Linked DNA regions of Homo sapiens: all the other regions are linked to region 7. The links are contacts of gene promoters, found by promoter capture Hi-C in blood cells and fetal thymus (Javierre and others, 2016). All regions are on one chromosome and are shown on one strand. Each heading gives the region's core, a stretch centred on a gene start or on the middle of the fragment in contact. The rest is flanking DNA. Distances are from core to core; before and after follow the strand shown.

The links. Contacts are between HindIII fragments. The CHiCAGO score rates a contact against its expected background, and 5 or more counts as called.
Region 1: the fragment with the promoter of RCAN1 here is called in contact with the fragment with the promoter of SETD4 in region 7 in 2 of 17 cell types (neutrophils and total CD4 T cells); the score reaches 12.8 in neutrophils.
Region 2: a contact is called between a fragment that was not itself captured here and the fragment with the promoter of SETD4 in region 7, in 1 of 17 cell types (neutrophils). The highest score is 9.5, in neutrophils.
Region 3: a fragment that was not itself captured here is called in contact with the fragment with the promoter of SETD4 in region 7 in 1 of 17 cell types (naive CD8 T cells); the score reaches 5.2 in naive CD8 T cells.
Region 4: a fragment that was not itself captured here is called in contact with the fragment with the promoter of SETD4 in region 7 in 1 of 17 cell types (fetal thymus); the score reaches 5.5 in fetal thymus.
Region 5: a contact is called between a fragment that was not itself captured here and the fragment with the promoter of SETD4 in region 7, in 1 of 17 cell types (monocytes). The highest score is 5.3, in monocytes.
Region 6: a contact is called between a fragment that was not itself captured here and the fragment with the promoter of SETD4 in region 7, in 2 of 17 cell types (M0 macrophages and non-activated CD4 T cells). The highest score is 6.4, in M0 macrophages.

The regions. Positions count from the first base shown.
Region 1 is chr21:34,613,240-34,616,881 of GRCh38, reverse strand. RCAN1 (regulator of calcineurin 1) reads left to right here and starts at 1,769. Exons shown (of 4, transcript NM_004414.7): 1 at 1,769-2,122. The coding sequence starts at 1,871. RefSeq lists silencers at 1,535-1,964, 2,155-2,254. The HindIII fragment of the contact is 8,899 bases long and covers 1-3,174 here.
Region 2 is chr21:34,595,006-34,599,142 of GRCh38, reverse strand. The region is part of intron 1 of RCAN1 (regulator of calcineurin 1); the gene reads left to right. Among named protein-coding and RNA genes, the nearest start is that of RCAN1, 18 kb to the left of the region's middle. The HindIII fragment of the contact is 8,670 bases long and covers 1-4,137 here.
Region 3 is chr21:34,662,632-34,666,584 of GRCh38, reverse strand. No RefSeq gene overlaps it. Among named protein-coding and RNA genes, the nearest start is that of CLIC6, 4.4 kb to the left of the region's middle. The HindIII fragment of the contact is 2,807 bases long and covers 329-3,135 here.
Region 4 is chr21:34,684,562-34,688,361 of GRCh38, reverse strand. The region is part of intron 1 of CLIC6 (chloride intracellular channel 6); the gene reads right to left. Among named protein-coding and RNA genes, the nearest start is that of CLIC6, 17 kb to the right of the region's middle. RefSeq lists a silencer at 3,653-3,712. The HindIII fragment of the contact is 1,452 bases long and covers 955-2,406 here.
Region 5 is chr21:34,855,479-34,859,256 of GRCh38, reverse strand. All of the region lies in intron 6 of RUNX1 (RUNX family transcription factor 1), which reads left to right. All of the region lies in intron 1 of RUNX1-AS1 (RUNX1 antisense RNA 1), which reads right to left. Among named protein-coding and RNA genes, the nearest start is that of RUNX1-AS1, 21 kb to the right of the region's middle. The HindIII fragment of the contact is 1,957 bases long and covers 385-2,341 here.
Region 6 is chr21:34,705,963-34,709,628 of GRCh38, reverse strand. It overlaps CLIC6 (chloride intracellular channel 6), which reads right to left. Exons shown (of 6, transcript NM_053277.3): 2 at 2,240-2,349; 3 at 1,560-1,685; 4 at 823-929; 5 at 91-272. Among named protein-coding and RNA genes, the nearest start is that of LINC00160, 29 kb to the left of the region's middle. The HindIII fragment of the contact is 1,915 bases long and covers 1,036-2,950 here.
Region 7 is chr21:36,058,216-36,062,188 of GRCh38, reverse strand. It overlaps SETD4 (SET domain containing 4), which reads left to right and starts at 1,663. Exons shown (of 12, transcript NM_017438.5): 1 at 1,663-1,842; 2 at 3,265-3,373. The coding sequence starts at 3,301. It overlaps SETD4-AS1 (SETD4 antisense RNA 1), which reads right to left and starts at 1,585. Exons shown (of 3, transcript NR_186380.1): 1 at 1,568-1,585. RefSeq lists enhancers at 1,661-1,710, 1,741-1,890. The HindIII fragment of the contact is 7,728 bases long and covers 1-3,973 here.

The DNA.
Region 1 (3,642 bases), core at 520-3,019, 1.4 Mb after region 7:
TTTCCAAAGTGGCTGCGCCATTTTACATGCCCATCAGCAATATATTGTGAACCCTGAAAATTTGAGACAGGTCTCAATTAATTTAGAAAGTTTATTTTGCCAAGGTTGAGGGCATGCCCATGACAGGCCTCAGGAAGTCCTGAGGACATGTACCCAAGGTGATCAAGGCACAGCTTGGTTTTATACATGTTAGGGAGACATGAGACATCAATGAATGTATGTAAGCAGTACATTGGTTTGGTCTGGAGAGGCAGGACAACTTGAAGCAAAGGCAGGAAGACTACTGCAAAGGCAGGAGGCAGGAGGGAGCTTCCAGGTCACAGATAGGTGATAGACAAACGGTTACACTCTTTGGGTTTCTGATTAGTCTTTATAAAGGAGGCAAATCTGTCTCGGTGAAATGCATCTGTCTCAGTGAGCAGAGGGGTGACTTTGAATGGAATGGGAGGCTGGTTGGCTCTAAGCAACTTCCAGCTTTAGTTTTCCTTAGTGATTTTGGGGGCCCAAGATTTCCCTTTCACAGTATGACGGTTCCAATTTCTTCACATCCTCATATCATATTCTATTTTATGAGTTATCTCTAGATGGGTATTATTATTCCTCTTGGGTTTAGCTCCCTGAGGACACAAACTGTCCTAAGACTATGATAATAGTAATCATAGAACCGTGCACATGGCAAGTTCTGAATAAATCTCAGCTGTTGGATATACTTTTTGTTATAATTACTAACACTTCCTAACTAGAGAGTAAGCCTACTCTAAGAAAAAATATAACTGTAATTTCACAACCTCCAAAGAACCCAGTGCATAAACAGCTACCATTTATTAAGCACTGACTGAATTCTTAGTAATATGTCTTCATTTTTTTCAGATGAGGAAACTAAGATTCAGCTTATTTGTACAAGTAGTTAAAAAGCAAAGCTGAAATTCAGACCCAAGTTCTCACTGTATCATACTGTCCAAAAAAGAATTCTATTTTTCAGGAAGAGACATGTCTGCTCACTTGAGGTCCTCTTATTTTTCCGCTATTCCCCAAAGGAAAGGGGTGATCTCTTAATTCTTTCGTTATGTCCTATTGTACATAGCATATAATGGTAATTCAGAAAAATTACTTCTAATTACATAAATTTTCACAATGGTATAGTGACTAATACGCTGAAATAGAAAAGTAAGGCATTGTTATCATGGTCTAGTTCAGTCTTTATTGCGACTATATCTGATAATATACGGTAAGCATCTAACCACTTGCCAGGGGCCACAGAGCCACAGGGAGACTATGTCTCGCTTAAATTCCCAAAAGTGGGCCCCTGTGCTTCAAAACGTCCCCGCATGGGAACCACAAAAACGTTGCCTCCCCAGTTATCACCCCAAGGGCCCAAGAGCCGAGGACTCTGCCCGGCGTCCTTCAGCTGGCACCAGCTGTCAGAAAAGCGGAACTGGGGACGAGGACTTTGCCCCTAACCAACATGGCCGCCCTGAGGCTTCGGGCTTCGGGCGGCAGAAGGAAGGTCACGTGAAGAGAATTCCGTTCCTTTATTGGCCCCGTCTCCTGGAAGGGCGGGGTACAATAACCCAACCGGCGCCGGCCTTAAAGGGGCCACCGTTGGATCTGCCGGTGGCCGGCCCTAGGGGCTGGGGGGGCGGTCGCCGCGCCGGGCTTCTGCCCCTCCCGCGCGGAACGGTGACGGGCGGGGCTGGCGCTGGGAGGCCGTGTCGCTGGGAGACTGCTGACAGCCCGCCGCCTGCCGCCGCGCGATTCCGAGGGGGTTAACGGCGGAGCCGCCGGCCGGGCGCGGACCGGAGCGCGTGAGGCTCCGGCGCGCAAGCCCGGAGCAGCCCGCTGGGGCGCACAGGGTCGCGCGGGCGCGGGGATGGAGGACGGCGTGGCCGGTCCCCAGCTCGGGGCCGCGGCGGAGGCGGCGGAGGCGGCCGAGGCGCGAGCGCGGCCCGGGGTGACGCTGCGGCCCTTCGCGCCCCTCTCGGGGGCGGCCGAGGCGGACGAGGGCGGCGGCGACTGGAGCTTCATTGACTGCGAGATGGAGGAGGTGGACCTGCAGGACCTGCCCAGCGCCACCATCGCCTGTCACCTGGACCCGCGCGTGTTCGTGGACGGCCTGTGCCGGGTGAGGACCGCGCCGGGCGGGCCGTCGGGGCGGAGGGCGGACACTTGTTGCCCGAGGAGGCGGCGCGGGTCGCAGCGCCCAGTCCCGGCCGCGCGCGGGGCGGGGAGGCAGCGACGTCCCCCGGGCTGCTCGGCCGCGGACCCGTCAGGGCTGGGGCGTGGGGACGGCGCCCCGAGGGTCCCGGTCCCCTAGCACCCCCGGGGCGCGCGGAGCTCACTGCAGAGTCCCACAGGCTCGCCCCGGCCCCCGTGTGCGCCCAGGCTGGTGCGACTAGGGGGGTGAATTCGCTCCCCAAGGTGGGGCAGCGCCGCCGCCCCCTGCGCTCTCGCCATCGCCCCGCATTTACTCGCTGGAGGAGGGGGTCACCTCATTCCTAGGGAGGAGGAAACAGACATTGAGCGGCGACGTGACTCAGTGTTCATAAATAGGACGACGTCCCTGCATTCCCAATCTGCACTATTGGAAGAAAAGCCAATGTTTGGGTGAGGATCCGTGGTTGCTCATTAGCCAGCGGCTGGCCAGTTTTGGTGGAATTGTGTTGGGGGGAAGGGGACCATCTTTCAGACCTTTAGGATATTTAGTCAAGAACCTTGCCCCCTTGTGTGAAGGTGTGGCTTGCCGCCATCGGGGACACCCAGTACATGGGGAGTCGACTCCTTCCCCCGCCTCCCCCCACCCCCGCAAAATCCACACAATTTAGACACTTTGGAGGGTGAGGGGCAGGTATGAGTAATCAATAATGGTGGTGGGGAGGAAGAATTTATTTCAAATCTGCAGTTATTGTGCAGAATAAAATGTGGACAACGTGGGCGTCACAGAATGAAACCGGTCTTTGAGAGATGCCCCATTAGGAGAGCAGCTGTCAAAAAAAGCAGTGCTTTCAGCGCTTGGCTGTGGGTCCACAAATGCTGTCAATGAACTATAGTTGAAGGCTGCTGCCAATACAACACCACTGTGAAACAGAATGGTGTATGTAAGTGTCATTTATTTATAATTTATATGTTCACTTACTTTCTGAAAGGAATTACAATGGCCGTGTGCTTAGGTAAGCTTCCAGGCATGCTTTCTAGAGCAGCAATTGTCAGGAACTCAGGGTCTTACTGATTGATCTTACTCTAAAACCTTTTCCTCTCCATATAAACTAAGCGCTAGCCAGCATTTCAGACCTTTTCCTTAGGAGTTCTAGGCTGTCTTTCTGCTAGAACAAGGTCAAGTCACGTAAGACGGCACTTACTTGTAGTGTTGGAGACAATTTTTTCCAGTGTTGGATACAATCCTGAAATTGTGTTGTATGAAAGTTTGCCCACTTCGCTAGCTATTCATTTTAACAAATATTTATTGAGACTTCGCTACGGGATAGGTACTGTCCTAGGCTCTGAGGCTGCATCAGTAAATAAAATAGCATTTCTGCCTCCAGGGTTGACATTTTTTGGAAGGGAAACAAGCAATAAAGAAATATCAAATGTATCAGAAAGTAATGATGCTATAGGAAAAAATAAGACTTGGAGGGCAGGAGGAGG
Region 2 (4,137 bases), core at 1,164-3,663, 1.5 Mb after region 7:
AAGTGGAATTTCTGAGCCAGGAGGTATGGTTACTTTACGTTTTAATAGATACTGTCAGTTTGCTCTGCAAACTGTTTATACTGATGTATTACCCCCAGCATCGCATGAGTTCCTCTCTGCCCACATTCTCACCAGTACTGGGGATTAGAAATCATTTTGAATCATTGCCAGGATCTCTGATAGACGTAAAATAGTATCATCTTGTTTGAATTTGCTTTTCCTTAATTAGGAACAAAGCTGACCCTTCCATATGCTTATTAGTCAGTTGTTGCTTTTTTTCCTCTATAAACTGATTGTGTATATCTTGCGCTACTTTTCTGGTGAGTTTATCGTCTGTACTTAGGAATATGTAAGTTATTTGCTTATTAAGGAAATTAGTACCTTACTGCACATATTACAGATATTTTCTCCAGTTTGCCATTTGATTTTATGGTGTTTTTACTCCATAGAATTTTGTATTATTTTTATTTGTAGTTCAGATGCAGAAATTTTGCCTTCCTTTCTCCTGAGGTTGTTTCATACCTAGGCCAAGATGTATAGGAGTAGGTTTTCTTCTAGAACTTGTACATTTTTGTTGTTGATGTTTGCTTTTAATTCACTGGACATTCTGGTATGAGGAGTGAGTTAGATTTCTGGTTTTCTCGTTTGCATGTTACCTGTGGGATGTTCCAATGTTGTTTGCTAAGCAGTGCTCTTTCTTTGAAGATTTGAAATACCACCTAAATGATCAAATATGCTCTTCTATCAGGATTCTTCTCTTGATCTTTTTGTTCATTTCTAAGCCAGTTTCATACTACTGTTTTCATGACTGTGATCTTACATTTTAGCGTGATTTAACAATTAATACAGTGAATTGTCCTATTCTTTTTTTCCAGTATTTGTTTTCCTGGCTAGTATCATTTGCTGCTTCTTCTTTGGGAACTCTAGAAGTATACTGTTACTTTCAAACTGTCCTCTACTCCCTTACAAGAATGAAAACGAAAATGGAACATCCAAACCTGTTAATATTTTGAGTGAGATTGCTTTGGGTTTATAGTTACTTAGGGAGAGTTGACGTCTTTACATCCTAGGTTCCTGTGGTGTTATTCTACTTATGTAAGCCATCTTTTCTCTACTCAGTACAGGGTGGAAGTTTTCTTTATATAGACCCTATCTATTTCTTTAATTTGTATTTATGTTTTAGATTCTTCAATATGAACATTTTTATGTAAATTTAAGAAATTATTTAAAAATGGGATTTTTAAATTACACTTATTTTTACCTCTATATAGAGAAGATTATTGTTTCTGTGTATTAATTTTGTAACCAACCACCTGTGCTAAAGCCTTTGACTATTTCTAATAGTTGATTCTTTTGCATTTTCTAGGTATAAAATCGTATCACCTGCAAATAATGATGATTTTTCCATCTTGTTTATAATACTTCAAATTGTATTTCAACATTATAGAGGCAGCAGATGGGTATTCTCATCTTATGGAAACACGCTAGTCTTTCACCACTGACCATAGCTTGGGTGTGGCAATATGGTATTTTATCTCACCTTCAGGTATCTTGATGACTTTCCCTGTTACAGACCTAGTTACCCCAACAGACACATCTAGCTTTCTTTCATTACTTTTACATAGGCTCCAAGCTGACACACAATTCTTCTTTAAAGAAGCAGCTTCCCGAACGTTCTGTGAGCCACATCTCCATCTGCACACTCTCGATGCTGCCCTGTGGAGGACTCCCTAGGGTGGTGGGAGTGTCCTGTATCCGCACTGTCCACTGCAGTAACCACTGGCCACTTGTGGCCACTGAGTGCTTGAAATGTGGTGGACATGACTGAGGAACTGAACTTTTAATTTTTTTCATTTTAATTAATTTTCATTTAAATTGTCATGTTATTGAGCACTTAAAATGTAGCTAGTACTACCGAGGAGTGTTTACTTTTGCTAATTTTCATTGACATAGCCCCATGTGGCTGGTAGCTGCAGAACTGGGCTGCACGGGTTCCTCGCTCATTCATGGAAGGGTAAGATATGAATGCTAGAAAGGCCCTGGTGGCCACTCATTGTGCCCAGAGATGCTGAGATTGGGCCCACATCACACAGCAAGTTCATGACGAAACTGAGACTGGGAGCCCAGGATTCTTACTCTCTGTCTCAAGCTGGTGTCACTGTCCAACCCCTTCTTTACTCCTCCCCTCCCATTTCCCTTCTGTAAGTTATCACCGAAGTCCCAGTGTGTGCAGACCAACGCACAGCACAGTGAGCAGGCCCGAGCCTCGCAGACACCTTCCCTAGTGTGGGTCCAGCCAAGGGCTGTGCAGTTGTTGAGTTTTCAGCCGAGCTCCTTCACTCCACAGTGCAAAGGTTCTCGCAAGATAAAGGCAGGGAGGCAAAGTCCTCGGCCCTTTGTCGAGGTGGAAAGCACCCTGAGGTACTGTGTTGGTGTTCCAACATCATCAGGAAATGCCCATCCCGGTTCGAATGTATTTTCCAGTGCTTCTAAAAGAAGACTTTCTGCATCTTCTGCATGGCAGCGGGGGTTGCTCCTGTCCCTGAGACGGCTCTAAACCTTACGAGAACCCAGCCTGCCGTGGTCAGGGAGTGGAGAGAATATAGAAAGCAGAGCCTTCGAGAAGGCCCTCAGCTGAGGCTCCAGTGGGCAAGGAGGCTTTCTCGGTCATGCAGGAGCCACAGCCCTGCTTGCACTTCGAGTTTTTTCTACTTTAGCCAACTCTTTCTCTCTTTCCCCAGTGAGGGGGTTCCCTGCATCAGTCCCTGGGCCCCTGTGGGTCTCCTCAGCCTTCCCTCCCAGTCGTTCATTCAAAAGAAGCAGGAGGGAACCACGCTACAGAGACTCTCGGCTTTTTCTGGAGGGCAGGAAGGCCTCCGCTTATACTGGAGGTCACCTGTTGGAGCTTAGAGGTTAAGAAGGCCGGGCACTTGAGCTTCTTCCTGGCACTGCTGCTCCCTGGTAGCATGGACATGGGTGCTTCAGTTTGCCCACTTGTAGGATGGGGCTCATAATAGCCACCTCACAGGGCTCCGGGGATGGGGACGTGAGTCCACAGACAGAAAGTGCCGAGAGTCCACTCTCCACAGATGTCAGCACTGATCCACACTAAGATGTCTTCTCTACCTGCTTCAAGGGCAGGTGACCTCCAGGAAGGGCCCCCTCTGCTCCTCGGCCAGAATCCTTGAGGCAGGCTTATCTGGGGAGCTTGGCCTGCATCTGCGTAGATGGACTGTGTGGGGGACCCCCAGACTCCCCTTTTCACACGTATGTCCCACCCCTGCCGGGGGGTGGTCAGCTTGTCTGACACCACAGGTCCCCAGCTCCTTGAGGCAGCCTGTCCGGCCTGCCCAGTGGCCCCCATCAGAGCCATCCAGGCAGCGTGTGAGTGGGTGTTGGGAGCAGTGCCCTTCCAGTGGCCGGCGAAGGCAGTGTGCATGCCTGAATCTGCTGCCAGTTGAGAAGTCAGCTCCTCAGGTGGGACAAGGACCCTGGCCTTCCTGGGAACCTGAGCAGATTGCGCAGTTTCCTTTTCTCAGCACGGCTCCTGCACTGGCTTACGTAACAGCAACAACCTGCAGAGCCTGGGCTCCGGGGCTCATTCCCAGACAGTGAAGTCTATGATGAATAGATGGGTCTGTACACTCTTAGCAGAGAGCCAGTAATTTGCTCAAAGGTCAAACTTAGCTTGATTCAGAACACAAAATTACTAGGATTCTATTCTTTCTGCGGGTGTTGCTTCTGTATTTTTCATGGTCAAGGAAAAGCTGTGAAGCACTTTCTTAGGGCTTAAGAGCTAAGGGATTTTTCCTCCTTTTTTGATGACCCTCTTTTCCAGCATCTCAGCACACCCCCAGATGGGAAGAGGCTATGATGAATTTCTCCCACCATTTATGCCACACCCACTCTGTGCCAGTTACTAGAGCAAGTGGTTTCCAGGTGTGTGTGTAAGGAAATGCTCTTAGTGCATTTGTTCTGTGTCAGGCACTGTTTTCCATAGTGTTTGTCCAGTGCCAGGTGCTGCTGTAAGTATGGCACTGCCTAGAAGTGTGAATGCATTTCATCCTCACATAAACCCTGTGAAGCAGATACTATGACTGTCCCCATTTTATGGATGGAGTCACTGAGGCATCTGGA
Region 3 (3,953 bases), core at 483-2,982, 1.4 Mb after region 7:
ATTTTAAAATTTTCTATTATATAATTTTGCAAATTTGTTCAATCTTCTGAAATTAAATAAAGTTTGTTTTTAAATAAATGCAGGCTCAATGCTGAAAATGCAGAAGACAGAAAATAACAGCTCCTTACAATTTTTCTGTAACCACATTACCGATAGCTAAATACTTTCTTTTAAGAGAGAAAGAGAAAGAGACAGATTGTTCCAGACACTGGATATACAGCAATAAACAAGACTGGGAAGGTCCCTCTTCAAATGGTATAAAGCAAAAAAAAAATAAAAATAAAATAAGTAAAAAAAGAAATGAGATAATTTTGGATAACATTAAGCTTTATGTAGACACATATGCCAACGTGTGCACAGACATGCCCAAACTGAAAACCTTAGCTCTTTTCTTCCAAACCCTACATCCAACCTGCCAGTAAATCCAACTGGCTTCACTTTTTAAAAATATATACCCAAAGCCAGGCATGGTGGTGCACCTGTAGTCCCAGCTACTCGGGAGGCTGAAGCAGGAGAATCACTTGCGCCCAGGAGTTCTAGACCAGCTTGGAAGCAGCATAGTGAGATGCCATCACTAGAAAGTACACAAACACACACACACACACACACACACTCACACACGTAAAATCCAACCTCTTCTCTCTATCTCCATTACCACTGTACCAGTCCAAGTCACCATCACCTCCTGTCACCTAGATTATTGCCACCACCTCCTAACTAGTTCCTGGCCTTCGACAGTCTGCTCTCCACTCCACAGCCAGCTGATCCTCTTTGGAAATCATGAATCAGACCATGCCACTTTTATGCTCAAAATCTTTCAAAGGTTTTCTGTCTCACAGTAAGAAAAAGTCAAGTCTTTATGCATGAAGTATAAGGTCCTATAAAATCAGGCAATCCCAGTCTCTTTCTGGCTTACTAGACTTCTGCAGCCCCTAAAACACCAGCCTGCTTGCCGTCCCTAGAACTTGCTGGGCCTCTGCCTGGGATGCCCCCTATATTCTCATGGCTTACTCCCTTACCTTGCTGCAGTCTCTGATTAATTATTTTCCCCAAGCACTCCATTTTACTTTTATAAAATGGCTAGAGTGCAGTGGTGTGATCTCGGCTCACTGAAGCCTCCAGCTCCCAGGTTCAAGTGATCCTCCTGCCTCAGCCTCCCGAGTATCTGGGACTACAGGCGCATGGCACCACATCCAGCTAATTTTTGTATTTTTTTTAGTAGTGATGGGGTTTCACCATGTTGGCCAGGATGGACTCGATCTCTTGACCTCGTGATCCGCCTGCTTTGGCCTCCCAAAGTACTTGGATTACAGGCATGAGCCACCATGCCCGCCCCAAGCATTCCATTTTAAAACACAACCCCTACTCTCTGGCATCCTTCTCTGCCTTATTTTCCCCCATAGCAGTTATCTTCATCTGACACATAATATATTCTAGTTGTTATCTGTCTGCCCTACCTCACCCCACTAGGATGGTGATTCTGTGAAAGCAGGGGTTTTTGCTTGTCATTGCCTAGGATAGACCAGGCACATAGTAGAGCTCCATAAATATTTCCTGAATGAGTGAATACACACGTGCCTTCAAATACATATGCACCAACCTGAACTAGTTTTGGAAAATACTTTTCTCAGTTAGTTTTATACTTTGGTGGGCAAGCTAATGTCACAAGACACACTATTCACAGAAATTCTTTTTTTTTTTTTTGAGACGGAGTCTCACTCTTTTGCCCAGGCCAGACGGCAGTGGTGCTATCTCGGCTCACTGCAAGCTCCGTCTCCTGGGTTCATGCCATTCTCCTGCCTCAGCCTCCCGAGTAGCTGGGACTACAGGTGCCCTCCACCACGCCCGGCTAATTTTTTGTATTTTTAGTAGAGACAGGGTTTCACCGTGTTAGCCAGGATGGTCTCGATCTCCTGACCTCGTGATCCACCCGCCTCGGCCTCCCAAAGTGCTGGGATTACAGGCATGAGCCACTTACAGAAATTCTTATCTACTGACTTTGCCAAAAGAATACTTTAGCAAATTCTTTTAATTATTAGCAAGGGCTCAGTCAGTTCATATAAAGGAACACAAAGGAAATACCAAATAAATAGACGTGTGAAGGTCGCTATGAAGTCACTTAGAGACGTGCACGTTGTTAACCTGGCCTCCAACACTAGATTAGCTATTTAAATACCAGGGAGGGTTAAACAGAGGTGACAGATTCAGAGGTGGATGACAAGAAATGAAAGCGTTGATATTTAAGTAACTTTTAATAATTATACAGTCCTTCTGCCATATATTATAAGGAATCATGAAGCAGGTAAACTCGGATTACAAGAAAACCTTAAGGGCTTATAAACAATGTAAGGGTTTGTTGCTTTTGTTGCTTTTCCAGAAGGAATGGCCTCATCTCCATAGAAATCTGCTCTTTCTCTAGCAGGTATCTGCTCCTTTCAGAAGAGCCCGTGGGATTATAATGTATCTGTAACATTTAGATCACAGGATACACTTAGAGCTGAGTAAAGTTTCTCCTTGCCTGGAATTCTCCTCAAACAGTTGCACTCACTTACCTACAAGTGGCCCCAAACCCGCTTCTTAATCTGGCTGGCTTTCTTCAGTTACTTGGTAAGGTACATTTCAGTTAAAAGAAGAGTGTCACTGCAGAATAGGTTGTACTAGGAGGCAGGGATTTCAAAGCCTGCTAGTCAGTAGATCCTGAAGCACGTACACATCATCTTGCAGGTCAGTAAGAACATTACATGGAACTGACACACATGACAATCATGGTGAAATGGGTGGTTCTTGGATTAAATGGTCTGATTTAAATCCCTGCCCTATCTCGTAATAACTATATGATCTTGATTCAGTTTTTCATCTGGAACAGTGAGGGTTATAAAAGGAACCTTGTCATTGTCAGTTGTTTCACTGATACATATTTGTACATTATTTATGCAGTACATGTGATATTTTATTACATGCGTAGAATGTGTAATGATCAAGTCAGGGTATTTAAGGTATCCATTACCTAAAGTATTTATCATTTCTATGTGTTGGGACCAGTTCAGGTCCTCTCTCTTTGTTATTTTGAAATAGACAATATATTGTTGTTAACTTAACTATAGTCACCCTACTGTGCTACCACACATTAAAGCTTATTCCTTCTATCTAACTGTATGTTTGTACCCATTAGCCTACTTCTCTTCATCGTCCTACTCACCCACACTCCCTTTGCAGCCTCTGGTATCTATCATTCTACTCTCTACCTCCATGAGACCAACCATTTTAGCTCCCACATAGGAGTGAGAACATACAACATTTTGACCTTAACATAATGACCTTCATAGTGACCTTCAGTTCCATTTGTGTTGCTGCAAATGACATAATTTCATTCTTTTTATAGCCACATAATATTCCATTGTGTGTATATATATATACCACACTTGCCTTATCCATTCCTCTGTTGATGGACACAGGTTGATTCCATATCTTGGCTACTGTAAATAGTGCCACCATAAACATGGGGGTGCAGGCATCCCTTTTTTATACTGATTTCTTTTCCTTTGGATAAATAACCATTTAGTGAGATTGCTGGATCATATAGTAGTTCTATTATTAGTTTTTTGGTAATCTCCATTCTGTTTTCCATAGTGGCTGTACTAATTTACACTCTCACCAACAGTGCCCTTTTCACCACATCTTTATCAGCATCTGATTTTTTTGTCTTTTAGTAATAGCCATTTTAACTGGAGTAAGATGGTATCTCATTGTCATTTTGATATGCATTTTCCTGAGGATTAATGACGTTGAGCATTTTTTCATATACCTGTTGGTCATTTGTATGTCTTCTTTTGAGAAATGTCTATTCATGTCCTTTGCCCACTTTTTTTATTGTATTATTTGGTTTTTTACTGTTGAGTTTTTTGAGTTTCCTGTATATTCTGGATATTAGTCCCTTATCAAATGATAGTTTA
Region 4 (3,800 bases), core at 431-2,930, 1.4 Mb after region 7:
GGGGAGAAAAAATAGACAGCGAGGACAGCAACAGCCAGCAAAACCCAGCAGCAGAAATAAGGCTCCGAGCCGAATAAGAGTCAAACCAATGGTGGGGGGCGGCCACACTGATGAGAATTGAGGGGAAAGACTATTGTGTCCCCTCGTTTTCACATCTTTGCTAGTATTGTCCATTGTTATTATACCAGCTCAAACTATGACACAAATAGTAGGCATCACACTTCTTGTAAGTCTATAAAGGAAACATGTATCATCATTGCAGCAAGGCCTATTTTAGAAAAGAAATTTTTTTTTGTAAATAAATAAAAGTCCACACTTTCTAGACTGACTTTGTTTGCATGCTCAACCAATACTTTACACTGCATACCCCCAGTGGAGCGGACAGCTCCATCCCAATGCTCGTTGTCTGTAATTATCAGTAAAATTTATTGCCAGATTCCTCATTCCAGGCCATAAAAGGAGCTAGGCTTTCCCTTAAAACAGACTTCTCACTCTTCATTAAAACTTAGAAATTAACTTTATTCACTCCTACATTTAGATGCTAAGAAATATATTTTAGATCTTAACACTTTCAAACATAGGTGTAAACATTTAAAAAAAACTACTAATCCTAAACATATTCCTAAGTATGTATAGTATTTTTTCTTTTCAGCTGTTGTAACAATTAATTTATTATTCAATGGATTAAGTGGGTGACTACCCTCGACTCACATTGATTAATTACTGAACCACATTGCTCCTAGCTTTCAATTCTAGCAAAAGGCTTAATTATGTTAGTGTTCATTGTAACAGCAGGTGGAATCAAGGCATAAGAAGTCCTTGAGCAAACAAACTGGTATTTGCCATCTATTCTTATATATGAATTATGCTTTAAAAACTCCGGGGCTATTTTTAATCCATATTTAATAATATGGCCTGATACCAACTGAAGCTTTTACATGGAGATGAAAAGCTTATTTCCTTGTGAAATTCTCACAAGGAATTATTGCAACAAAGGAACATCTTGTTCTAGAAAGCCTGCTTAATATTGCAGCCTGTTTTTATATATCCCGGTGGTTTAGGTTCTTGAATGACAGAGTAGTCCAATCCCTACAGTGACTCAAAAGGGAAAAAATGCAGGCACCAAATGGAAGAACTGGCTGCATGGAGCCTCCTTCCTTTCCTCTGATTGCCCCCTCCCCTTTAGAATTGCTTTCAACTGTTACTCCACACCTCCCATCTGGCCCTGTCTTTTCACCCACTCAGATTTCACTAGCTTAGAGGAGACATCAGTCATGGCATATCCCAGTCACCAATTGCCACGTAACAAATTACCCACAATTTATCAGCCTAGAGTACCTGGTTTATAGTATCTCATGATTTTGTGAGTGAAGGATTTGAGCGAGGTTTGCCTGGGCGATCCTTCTGTTCCGTGTGGCACTGACGAAGGTTACTCAGCAGTGTTCAGCTGGCAGATGGGCTGCTCTGAGGGGCCAAGACAGTTTCATACACATGCCCAGTGTCTTGTGGATGGTCTGGTCTGAGGGGGCCAAGACAGCTTCACACATGTGCCCAGTGTCTTGCGGATGGGCTGGTCTGAGGGGGCCAAGACAGCTTCACACACATGCCCATCATCTTGCATAGATGGCTGGAAGGCTGGGCTCAGCTAGGATTGTCAAATGGAGCACCCACAGGTAGCCCCTCCAGCATGGTGACCTCAGGATGGTCAGTGAATAAGGCAGAAGCCACACAGTCTTGCAGGACAAAAATCACCCAGCATCACGTCCACTATATTCTGCTGGTTACGAAGTAGTCACTAAGGTCAGGCCAGATTCAGAGGGAGGAGAATCAAACCTCACTTCTTAATAGGAGTATTAAAGAAATGGCAGCCATCTTTAATCCACCACACTATATGATTCCAGGCTGTGCCAAAATGCTCAAAGCATATGTTTTTGGTTTTGGGTTTTTGTTTTGTTTTGTTTGACACAGAGTCTCACTCTGTCACCCAGGCTGGAGCGCAGTGGCGTGATCTCAGCTCACAGCAACCTCTGCCTCTTGAGTTCAAGTGATTCTTCTGCCTCAGCCACCCAAGTAGCTGAGACTACAGGCGAGTGCCACCATGCCCTGCTAACTTTGTATTTTTAGTAGAGACAGGGTTTCACCATGTTAGCCAGGCTGGTCTTGAACTCCTGACCTCGTGATCTGCCCACCTCAGCCTCCCAAAGTGCTGGGATTACAGGTGTGAGCCACCGTGCCCGGCCAAAGCATATGTTCTTAATCATATTAATAAATGCTTTGAGCATTTTAGTTATTTACTAAGTTGAACTGGCTTAACCCATTTATGCCTGAGGTTGCAAATTTTTTGTGTGAAAAAGCAGACCTTGGTGATGACATTGAGCAGTAGGATATAAATAACTTCCACAAGCTTAGCGGTCCAATAATGGAATACTAGGCATAAATGGGTTAAGAAAACCTTAGTAGTGTCTAAAAGCAATGGAGTTGTTGTTTTGTACTCAGCCATGGGTGGAGCTACATATGTGCAGGACTTCCCTTAGCCAGAGCCTCAATACCTGGAGAGTGACAGAACATTCTTGCTTTATTGCTGTTATTTATGATTCAAAGCATTATAATATATTAGTAAAAAGGGCAGCTAACAAAAAAATGTCCCCCTCCATGTCTGATGTGTTAATAGCTCTGTGTTTCTTTAAGCACTGGATTCTCTGTTTGGAGAGTTACATGACACAGAGAAGCCGCCGAGTGCAACCTAAAACTTCATCCAGTTTGATCATTTATGGGAAGAGAGTTGAAGACATCCAACCCGGAGTTAAAACAAAGAGAACAAAGCTGGGGGAGAGAGTTAAGTCTTTCCAAGGTTCTTTGAACTCACCTCCAAGGCTCTCACACCAAAGGCACCAAAAAAGTGTTGATTTTTCTTATTTAGGGAGAAAGAGTATCACTGGATCTCCAGACCAATAACACCTTTAGTTTGTGCGGCCTTCAAAGCAGATGATGGCTGTGATGTGCCGACGTCTTGGACAGGCCATATGGCCTTCACCCTAAGGACCCCATCAGAATATCACTGTGTGTTCCAGCCAGGGAATAAAACAGTGTCCTCTGTTCATCTCTGCTTTGATTCATCATCCCCATGTCCCCAGGTGGCTAGAGGAGGACCAGGGTCACCGCTTGGGGGATTGCTGGAGTGCATATCAGCTTCTTCCTACTGGACTGCAGCATCCTACACACCACCCCCCACCCTGCCACCCCACCAAAGCTAGGAAAATAAAAGCATAAAGCCTTGAGAACAATGGGTCCAGGCTTTCTTCTCTCTCAGTAGCCAGGTACCCTCTCCAGTGGAGAGTCTCCCTAGCTGGAAGGCAAAATCTAGGTTTATGGAAAAGGACCCAACTGCCTGGCTTCTCCAGGACAGTTTTGAACTCTCACACCTGGAAACCAAAAGGGTGCCCTGAAACTGACAGCCACTTCATCAGCACTGTGTTGCCTCTCCTTTGTAAAAATAAGGGCTGCTCCTTAAAGAAATAACTGCAGAAAGGGGACATGGAATGACCTAGGTCACATTTCCAGGTCCTCCTTGCTTGTGTACTATAATTACAGTGATTTATTTTCCTCTCCCTCATTTTGGCCTTCACTTACACTCCTCACTGTAGTCTCCTACCGTAGAAAGAGGAAGAAGGAAATAATCTTTCATGTGCCATAGAGCTTTAATAGTTGTAAAGTTACTGTGCTCAAAGTCAAGGTCTGTAAACACAATCTGGCTGCTGAGACATCACTGGCTTAGGTGAAAAGAACTTATGGATAGTAAT
Region 5 (3,778 bases), core at 114-2,613, 1.2 Mb after region 7:
AAAGGAAATTAGGCTGACTGAATCATATGTTAGAACCATTCAGGGCAGCATGAAACTAAGGACTGCTTCCTCAATATACAGTAAAGTTCAACAGGATCAGAAACAAATAGTAAATGGAAGATTGGCCAGGCACAGAGGCAGCCCAAAGAGGTCTGAGGGTCAGAGTGGACCACAAGGGAGTAATTACCGTCTATGCTGGCCTTTTATTAATTCATGAGGGCCAGAGATGAAAACTATGAAAATGACCCTTTTCTTTCTATGGCACAGATCAAAATCTTATTACAGGCATTTTTAAGATAGAGAGTGGGAGGGTAGAAGAATGTCTGGGGAAAACCAGTAAATATAGAAAGATAGTACCAAAAAATAACTCCTGTGAGGGAAGCTTTTAAAAAAATGAGTGAGGTTGTTTAGTCTGCAGAAAAGATGTCTTCACAGTGACTTAATGACTATCTTTGAGTAAACACCAGAGTAACGCTCTTTTCCAGAACCACACCCTTCCCCAGGATCTGAGGCTGGGTTACAGTTCCAGGTCTGTGGAACTGCCCAGCACCCCCGCCCAGCATCCAGATGTCTCCAAACCGTATCAGGTCCCTGGTGGAAAATTAATATACTCTCTTCTTGGAGTGAGGGATATTGAAAAACAGGGCTTCCTACTGTCCCCAAAAGCCAAGATGCAGGGAGGTCAGGTTGTAAAATGAAGTGGTTAAGAATTTGGGCTTTATGGGCAAGCCAGTGGAATTCTTAAGCCTTCAGTGAGCTACAGAGCCTTGCTGAACCTCACTTTCCTCTTCTGTAAAATGGGGATAATAATGAGAGCTTCTTTATAAGATCAAGCCAAATGATGCTGTGTGCCTGATGCAGAGAATGAAGGCAGGAAATGTTAGTGATCCCCAGTAGGGCATCCCTGCTTTCATCCCTGGCTACTGCTCCAGTCCCCTCTAGATGACCTTCCCTGCATGGTGGTTTCTAGGTGGGGTTTTAAGGTAGTTCTCTGCAGGCTATCCTGTGATCACGGCAGCTTTTATGGCAGCCTTCCCTGTGGTCCTGGCCACAACCTCATGGCATCTGGGTCACCTTCTGGAACCATTCCCCAAGCTGCATCAACTTTCCCAAAGTCCTTGAGTGGATGGAGCTCTGCAAATAATCACCATGCCCACCAGGGGCAGGCCACCAGGATATGGTGTTCCTCGTCTGCTTTTTCCCTTCCTTCCATTTGCTGTGCTCGGTGACTCCCTCCAGATCTGACTGCATTTTTCCCCAGAGGGCCCTCTCAGCTTTTTCTGATCGAGACTTTCTGGCCATGCCTAGACTTGGGAGACTGTGGGACTTGATAACAGACCCTGATTCTTCTTTATGAGTGAAAAGCAGGCCATAGACACAGACAGGACCACACAGGTCTAAGGAATGACTGTGAGCTCTTCTTAGGTTTCCAGAGTAGGAATGTCAACCTGGACATTCCTACGTTAATGTAACCCTGCATTAAACAGAACATAAACACCAAAGCAAGTTTGTTCTCCACAGAGGACCAAAGAGGAAGCAGGCTTGAATTATGGCAAGGGGCCTGGCTGGGAGGGAGGCAGTTGTTAGGTATAAGAAAATCGACTTTGAGGGTGACTAAACTTAGAGAAATGCTCCTTCAGGAGGCTGTAGAACCACTGTATTTAGAACTAGAAGCAACAGCCGTCTCTGGGACAGTTGAAATGCCGACCAGCCTGAAGAAGCCGAAGCCAGGTGACCCTGGGTATACCCTCTACTTCTCTTATTTCCTCATGCATAAAGAAGGCTGGGTTTTGCCTCACTGCCAGCATTTCCTGTAACATTCAAAGAAATAACAAAGTTATTGAGCTTCAGAAAACAAATGGTGGCGACTCTGACTTTTAAGAATTGGCAGTCAGAGGGGAAAAAAGATGTCTATGCGATTGTAACGGTCTGGCTGTATATACAGTTTACTCTGCCCCTGCTGTTTTACAACTTAAGAAAACAGTTGTTATATGGAGAAGCACCCTCTGAGCAGACAGAAGGGATTTGCGCCAAAGAAGCATCCATTTTTACACAGTCTTCCCTGCCAAATGGAATTTGGGGCCTGGGGAAAAACTAAATGCGTGGAATAAGTATAAGTATGATATATAGAGGTGCAATAGCCCCAGGTAGAAAGTCTCACATTTTACAAGGGACTTCTAGAAAAAAGCCAAGTGCATGCAGACTCCCAGGTTGACTTGGGTAATGCTGACTTTTCTATTTGCCCTGTGAAGCAAGAGGGGCCATCACTGCTAATTTTAGTATGCTGGTTTCTTATGGTTTGAACGTCTTCATTCAGGGTGGGAACTTTCTATAGTAAGCTTTGCTCACAGTTGCTTTCCAGTGTAACATAAAGAGAGGACACTGCATGTAAATCAGGATGCCCAGATGTTGCCAGATCTCTGGATGAATAAGACCTCCCGAGTCCCCTCCATGATTATGGTGCAATGAATTCTGGGAAATCCTGGCAAAATGGCCCTGGCATTGCCAAGGTCAAATTGAATCATTTTGGAAAATTCTCTAGTTTCATAAAATCAAAGACAATGAGAGCTAGGAGGGGCCTGAGAAGAGCCTTTAGGATCATCACCCCATAGGTAAGGGAAAATAGCCCCAGAAAAATGAAACGGTTTGCCTAGCTTTAAAAGAGATAGTTGATGATGAAGCGTTAACAGAATGAGGAGTTCCTGATGTCTACTTCTGTGCTGTCCTTCATTTATCTACCTGTCCATTCATCTGTTCATCTCTCTATCCATACCATACTGTCTGTACATCATCTATTTCTTTCTTATAGACTCTTTGACCTGGCCTCGGTATCCTCACATTTAAAATGAGGAGTTGGCTTATATGATTGGCTGGCATATTTGGCTCATCTCGAAGACTGTCTATTATAGAAGGGCAAATGGTAGTGCCTCATTGCAGGTGTGGAGCCTTTGACTTGAGGTATGCGTGCAAGCTTAACTAAATAAAGCAGTTATCTGGCATTTGGAGGGACAAACTGCCATTCAACCTGCCATTCCGCTGACTAAGTTAAGGACTGAGAATGAGAAGCTGTGCCACAGCTCGTCTGTTTTTCATGCCGACGGGTAAACTTGATGCATCCCTCCCCTCTTCCAGGGTTTTCAGTGGTGAAGCTGTAGCCAAAAGTATACGCCAAAGGGAATTTAAAGTGTTTTTCGTTTCAGATGGTTTCTTGCTCTTTTACAGTAATGGACCTGCCCCTTAGAAAATCAAAACTTGTTTTTCTCATATTCCATAGGATTTTAAGAAATATCTTAGAGTAATATAGAAATTATTAATTGTTGAAAAATTAACTTTATCATGGAGCAAGAGCACCATCAAAAGGTATCCTCTGCCTGGAATGGGTTCTTACCAGCACCAAGGTGGGCTCTGTTTTCGGTTAGCACGTAGAGCACTTAGTAGCTTGTTGATATACTGAGAGTGTCTCCTCCTTAAGCACAAAAGATAGAGCGAAAGGATTTTTCAAGAAAAGGATATTTGAGAGTTTTTTGTTTGTTTGTTTGTTTGTTTTTGAGACAGAGTCTCACTCTGTTGCCCAGGCTGGGGTGCAGTGGCACAATCTCGGCTCACTGCAACCTCTGCCCCACTCCCAGGTTCAAGCGATTCTCCCGCCTCAGCCTCTGGAGGAGCTGGGACTACAGATGCCCACAACCACTCCCAGCTAATTTTTGTATTTTTAGTAGAGACGGGGTTTCACCATGTTGGCCAGCCTGGTCTCGAACTCCTGACCTCAAGTGATCTG
Region 6 (3,666 bases), core at 744-3,243, 1.4 Mb after region 7:
TTTAAATGTCTGGCCCAAACACAAGTAAAAACAAAATAAAACAAAGCCCCGTTCGTGTACTCGGCACACGTGTCGGGAGGGAAGATGAACCTTAATAATATGGAGCTTGGGTAAGAGGTTGCAGTCAGCCAGCGTCAGCTCGTCCCCATCCAGAAACTTCCTTCCAGAAACAGTGACATCCTCGGTGCTGTAGGCATCTATTTCATCAGGCAGAGGGCTATTTAAGTAATTATCCAGCTTCCTCAGGGCCTTCAGCAGGTTCTTTTCATGAACTAAAACAGAAGGGCAAGAAATCACAAAGAGAGGTTTGCAAGTGCATGTCACTTTTCACCAGCTGTGATGGAGTTTGCTTCCCTTCCTCGCTGAGATGTGGCCAGCAAGCAATGGGTGCTGGGAAGGCAGCAGGTGGATGTAGAATATCTGAATAAAGGGCTCACTCCTCCCTGGAAAATCACACTGCTGTCTACACAATATTGCTCCTTCTAGAAGTGATTTATTTATTCAAAAATACTTATGGAAAGCCTGTGGGGAGACGTGGACTGGCAGAAACATCATTGAACATGATTCCCATGGTGTGTCCGGAACACCTGGGTGATGACTATTTTCCCTAAAAATGTTGTTTTCTGAGTTCCCAGCCTCAAAAGAAGCATTCATCTCTTGAAGCCCACGTGCAGATTCAAAGTTGGAGGCACTTTTTCTGTAGCTCCAGACTCACTTCTCTACCCACTGGGAAATAGATGGGAATACCCCAGGAGCGTATGGGCCGCCATGCTAAGACTCAAGTCTGTGTTGAAACAAAACAGGAGGATGGGAGGTACTCACTCTCATTTGCATCCTTCTTCGTGTTTTTTATAAACGCTGAGAATTTGGCAAACACGTCATTTCCTGCGGAATTAGATTCGGGATGTTGGGTCCCCAGCTTGGGATACCTTGAAAAGTTCAAAATTGGAGGATCACAGACAAGTGATGTTTTAGTGAAGATAATACTATACAATGGAGAAAAACAGCTTTCTCTGGGCATAAAAATGAAAAGCTTTCCTTCAACGTTTTCCTGACCCTTTTCCTCTCAAAGGTTGGGAAGTAACAACATCTAGGAGAATGGCACTGGACGGAGAGGTTTGGATTGTTGCTGTTTCCTGGCAGTGGCCAGTTCTGGGACACAGGACCCCACCTGGCCTTGCTGGTCTCAGGTGCTTCCCTAGTAAAACGAAGGGGATGGAGTAGAAATAGCTCCCCCGAGGTCCAAAAATCCATGATACTTCTTCCTAACACATACTCCATAGCTTCCAGCAGGGTGTCTAGGATACAGCCAACCACCCACCCTGGACCCATCTCCTCCCACTTCCTGCCATCAAACTGTGATTGCCAAGCTGCAGGTGCAGCACAATGAAACCCAGGTCCCCGAACTCTAATCTGGTTACACCAGGGTTATGATTAAGGAAGTGAGCACCGTGGGCTGCAGAAAACCACACACACACACACTGCCCAGAGCTTTAGAACTGACTACTAGTGGGGGAAAGTGACAATCAAGTTATGAACACTGGTTTTCTGAGGCCTACCTCGGGGGAGCTAATTTCTCCTCTAAGAACTCCTCGATCTTATTCACATCCGTCTTGACTTCACCATCAAAAGTCATGAAAGGAGGGTTTGTTCCGGGAGCCAGGTTCTGCAGGTCTGCGGGTTTCCTAGGTGGGAGGAAACAGCAGTGTTTATGGGCCACCGTGAGAATCTGGACTCATTTCCAGGGCTTAGCCGCGTCCTCACCAGTTTAAGAGAAGCAACTCTTGAGAACTGCAAAGTAGATGGTGGGTTTATGAAAATGTCTTGCTGGCGATGAAAGTAAAGGCATTCATTAACAAATGATGGGCTTGTTGAGGTGCCCCTTTGTGAATACGGAGCACAAAGGGGCATATCAACAAACAGAGGTGAAAAAGTTAACTCTCCCCAGTGTTATCAGCCAGGGATGGTGCTCAGACAGGCTTGGGAGAGTCACAGCTGACCAGCAACTGGAGAAGCAGGTTCTTCACGGCACCCCCAACTCCTCCTCCTTCCTGACTCCAGCCCAGCCGACCCTGTCATGACTGCTTGGCCCACATGTGGGCTTCAGTTCAGACTCCGACTGAGGATGGACGTGCCCATGCAGCACCGTTGGCCTCAGGTGTGTGTGTGTGTGTGTGTGTGTGTGTGTGTGCAGAGAACTAGGTACAGTTATTTCAGTAAGGCAGACGCCTTGTCTTACCTTTTCAGGTCCACTGTGGTCACATTAAATATAACGCCTTTCAGCCAGAGAATCATAAAGAGACGCTGAGAAAACGGGCAATTTCCGATACTCTCACCATCATAACCAGCCTACAAGTGGAGAAGGAGATTTCTATCTGAGCCAGTCTCACAATTATAAGTGCCAACACCACAACATGCACATGCAAAATCATTGCAGGTTGATAAGAACGGTCAGGATGCTGCGAATATCCTCCTGAGGCCATTTTACCAGCCTCAATGTGGAGTTGGCGGTGGATGTAGGGGTTAGGGGAGAGAACACCACACACGCACGCACATGCACATGTATGCACTGCACTGAGCATTTTCTTTCTTCCTTCCCCACCACCTCACCACTGCCTGCCACACTGGGCCTCTGAGCAGCAGCTCACTGATGGAAGGAGCAGCAATGGGAACTCCCTTTATCACCAATGTGAAAAAGAAAGACACGCCCTTTCCTTCCCTCTATCTCTCGATCCTCTCCAAGGATCAACTATTCTTAGCAGCTTTGGTATAATAGCTAAAACCTGGAAACAACCCAGATACTATCAAGAGTAGAATACTTGTGTCAGTGTAGTATTTCCATGCCTTGAGATACTACACCACAATGGAAAAGAATTAGCTATTATACAAGCAACAGTGTGGGTGCATCTCACACACACAATGTTGAGAGAAAGACACCAGACTCAAAGCTTCCTGCATGATTCAGGGTAGGTAGAGGGCAAACTTGTCTATGATGGTGGAAGTCAACAGCAGATGTCCCTGGAAGATACTATTGTCTCAGAAGGACAAAAGGAAGGCTTCTGGGTGGTGGCAATGTTGTTCTATGTCTTGATCTGCACGGTGGCTACACGGGTGTATGTGAGTGATAAAAGTCTTAAGGTTTGGGTACTTTACTGAATATAAGTGATATGGTTTGTATATTTGTCCCAGCCCCAATCTCATGTTGAATTGTAATCCCCAGTATTGGAGGCAGGGCCTGACGGGAAGTGATTGGGTCGGGGGGTGGATTTCTCATGAATGGTTTAGAACCATCCCCTTGCTGCTGCCCTTTCGATAGTCAGTGAGTTCTTGCAAGATTGACAAGATTGAGCTGTTGAAAAGTACGTGGCACTTCCCTCTCTCTTGCTCCTGCTCTGGCCATGTGACGTGCCTGCTCCCCCTTTGCCCTCCTCCACGACTGTGAGCTTTGTGAGGCTGCCCCAGAAGCTGAGCAGATGCCAGCACCATGCTTCCTACAAAGCCTGCAGCATTTGAGCCAATTCAGCCTCTTTTCTTTATAAATTACCCACTCTCAGGTATTTCTTTATAGCAATGCGAGAACAGCCTAATGCAGTAAGTTTTACCTAAATACAAAAGAAAAGAATGTTAAAATAGTAATTTAAAAAATATACAGAGTTTGATTCAGTG
Region 7 (3,973 bases), core at 414-2,913:
AAAAGAGAGAGGGTATAATGAGGCATGTCTGACCTCACATTCCATCAGGGCTGGGAACTAAGTTTCTAAGTTTTTTTCTGGGGCCATCTTGGCCAAAAGGGGTTCCATTCAGTCAGTAGGGGCTTAGGATTTGTTTAGTTTACAGCTGTTAGAAACTATGTTAGTGTTTAAATCTTTTAGTGTTGGGGGGCAGGGGTGAATAAAATCATTTGTGTTTAGAATCTGTAGTTTAAATAGGATTTGTGCTCCGTATGCTGAGCGCCGGTCCACTGGGCCCACTTTTCTTTCTCTATACTTTGCCTCTGTGTCTCTTTTTTTTCTCAGTCTCTCATCCCACCCGATGAGAAACACCCACAGGTGTGGAGCGGCAGGCCACCCCTTCACTATTTACATAGTATTTACATTGTATTAGATGTTATAAGTAATCTAGAGATGATTTAAAGTATATGGGAGGATGTGCATAGGTTATATGCAAATATTACACCATTGTGAAAGTTGCAGAATCAAAATGGAGTCACTTGTGTCAAAACCCTGATAAATGCAGCTGGGGAAGGCCTTGAAGGAAGGGTTCTCATGCACTACGCCTCATAACAAGAATTGTCACAAAAGACCCTAACCTTGCAGAAAGGCCCAATCTTAAACACAGAAAATCCTTCTGCAAGGACATCTGTCCAGCAACTTTGGACTGATGCTACCTTTGTTATTCATTCTTTTAGCCAAAGATAATTGATTTAAAGCAATTCATATAATCTTCATTTTCCTTTTAAAAACATCTCCTTGCCTCAACCTCCCCCAAAACGCACACAGTTTACTATGGCATGCATATTCCCATTGCAATGCTACTCCCAGATAAATCTCATTTTCTTTTAGGGAGCCTCTTTTGTTACTTAGGTTTACACCATTGTATACAAGGGACTTGAGCATTCTAATTCTGGTATCCGCAGGGTCCTGGAACCATTCCCCCACGGACACTAAGGGACAACTGTACTTGTTTTTCATGACAGAAAACATGTTTAGGAGTACTAATTTTTTTTCCCCCATAGAAGATTTCCATAGAAGGGTTTTGGAGAGAGACACCACAGGAACATGCTATCAGCATGATTTCTTCCTGATGTTATCCTTGACCACCCGGTAAGGTACTGTTTGCCAGGTTTCTCCACTGTAGTCCCCAACACCATTCCAGGCTGTACTCTTTGGAATCAAGTTACTAGGCATAGCCCATAATCAAAGTGGGGGTGGGTGGGGCAGAAATCGAGCTCCCGCTATTGGAAGAAGGGGTATTTAGATATATTATTTAGAATTTTCCTGTGAGGCGGGTCCTGGGGCCAGAATGAAACGGTGGAATGGGGGCGGGGATTGGCGAGCAAAGTGACTCGACCCGGCAAACCCAGCCTGGCAGGAAAGCCCGAGGTCTGGGCGAACAGGGCCGCGCGCCCTAGGTGGTTTAACTTCGTAAGGAAAGACTCCGCAGGCCGGCTTTTCAGTGCGCAGCTTGCTCGCCTGCGGGTTACTGGGTTTTCTGACCCCTGACTCGACGTAGGGGTTATGGGGCTGTGGGTGTGCCGACCTCGTCCCCGACTGTACTGGGCGTTGGCGGCGAGTCCGCGAACACTGCGCATGCGCGAGCCGGAAGCTGCCGCCCGCGGCGGAAGGGGCGGACCCGGGAGACTGAGGACTTGGATTGCTTAAGGACACCAGGCAGGCGCGACAGCCTTCAGCCTCTCCCTCTGCAGTTTTGGCCGGTTCCTTTAACTTGCCTTCATCTGGGGCTGTTTGGTATTTCCACGTGCCTTGGGCCCGCCCACTGCAGCCTCCATCTTGGAAGCGGCCGCCGGCGCCTAGGTGAGCTAGTAGGACTTCCGGGTCGGGCCTCCAGTTGCCCGGGTAACGGGAGCAGAGTCGGCGGGGTGCGTTCCTTAGTCTTTCATTCATCAGCGTAAAAAGAACTGAGTTTAGGTCGCAGGTCCCCTCCAGGGCAGGCATTATCGTGTGCGCTGCAGTAACCTCTCATCTTGTGGAGTCCTACACTTAGCGCATGTTGCTCCGGCGCGCTGCGTAAAGCTGAGGAGCCTGAGGCCCGAGGTCCGATGCTCGCCTGGCTGGCCTATGGCTGCGGGAGCGGTGTGTGTCGGACCGTAGGACGGCCTCACGGCTAGAGTTTGAGGACTATGGGGGCGGGGACGGTGCCTGTGTCTGTGGCGGTCACCGGGCTTCACGTGGTCCTCAGCAGGGTGATGGTGGACAGCTCGCGCGAGGGCCCGGGAGTCTTGGGGACACTTCCCGGCGCGGTCTGTGGACTGAGCGCTGGGACCCGCACCGAACCAGCCGCCGTTCGCCTCTGGAGCTGGACATGCCGACTTTCGTTAGGTCAAATAATGAACCTTATACTGCGGAAGTGCGGTATTAATATTGCCTGGAGTTCTTGTCTCTTGCTCATTTCTGCCCTCGTATGTTTTAGAAGTAGATTTATTTTTTATTTTTATTTTTTTAATTTATTTTTTGTGACAGAGTCTCGCTCTGTCGCCCAGGTTGGAGTGCAGTGGCGTGATCTCGTCTAGCTGCAGCTTCCGCCTCCTGAGATCAAGCGATTCTCCTGCCTCAGCCTCCCCAGTAGCTGGTATTACAGGTGCCTGCCACCACGCCCGGCTGATTTTTGTATTTTTAGTAGAGACGGGGTTTCACCATGTTGGCCAGGCTGGTCTTGAACTCCTGACCTCAGCCCGCCTCGGGCTCCCAAAGTGCTGGTTTTACAGGCGTGAGCCACTGTACCCAGCCATTATTTTATTTTTATTTATGTATTTATTTTTTTATTTTTTTGAGACGGAGCCTCGCTCTGTCGCCCAGGCTGGAGTGCAGTAGCGCGATCTCGGCTCACTGCAACCTCCGCCTCCCAGGTTCAAGCGATTCTCCTGCCTCAGCCTCCCAAGTAGCTGGGATTACAGGCGTGTGCCACCACGCCTAGCTATTTTTTGTATTTTTAGTAGATTAAGCTGTAGTCACTAGGTCTGCAAGATAAAACTGTTTTAGAGGGACTGATATAATGGGAATTCTGTTACTGTAGGGATCATGATTTAGCTCACAGTATAAACGTTTCATGTACAAAAGCACTTGAGAGAAACAGTTTACCAAAACATACATTTGTATACTTAAAGGTACAAAGAACAGTGATTATCATATAACTGGAAAGTAAATCAAAGAAATGTTTTTTATTTTAGATTGAGCATTTCCACAGAAATTACAGTTTTGTCCTTTTTGAAAAAATAGAACTGTATTTCAGAAAAAAGAAACTACAGTTTTAGCATGCAGAAAGGAAAAGGGAGAACAAGCCGGATCAGAAGACGAAAACTCTGCGGAAGTTCTGAATCAAGAGGAGGTATGGTTTTTCTTTTAGTACCAGTAATGAAAAAAGAAATCCTTTTGTGATTGCTTGTTTGTTCATACGTAGCTTTTCTTTCTTTCTTTCTTTTTTCTGAGACGGATTCTCGCTCTGTCACCCAGGCTGGAGTGCAGTGGTGTCATCTTGGCTCACTGCAACCTCTGCTTCCCCGGTTCAAGCGATTCTCCTGCCTCAGCCTCCCAAGTAGCTGGGACTACAGGCGTGAGCCAGCATGCTCGGCCTAACACATAGCTTTTCTCAAAGGCACACAGTGTTCAAAGAGAATCTTTCTTTTTTTTTTTTTTTTGGAGACAAGGTACATTCTGTTACCCAGATTGGAATGCAGTGGCGTGATCATGGCTTGATCTCCCAGGCTCAAGTGATCTCCTCCCTTAGCCTCCCTCCTGCCTCAGCCTCCCAAGTACCTGGGACTACAGGTACATGCCACTGCACCCGGCTAATGTTTTTTTAAATTTGTTGTAGTGACAGGGTCTATGTTGCACAGGCTGGTCTTGAACTCCTGGGCTCGAGTGGTCCTCCTGCCTTGGCCTCCCCAAAGCACTGGGATTACAGGTGTGAGCCACTGTGCCCAGCCCA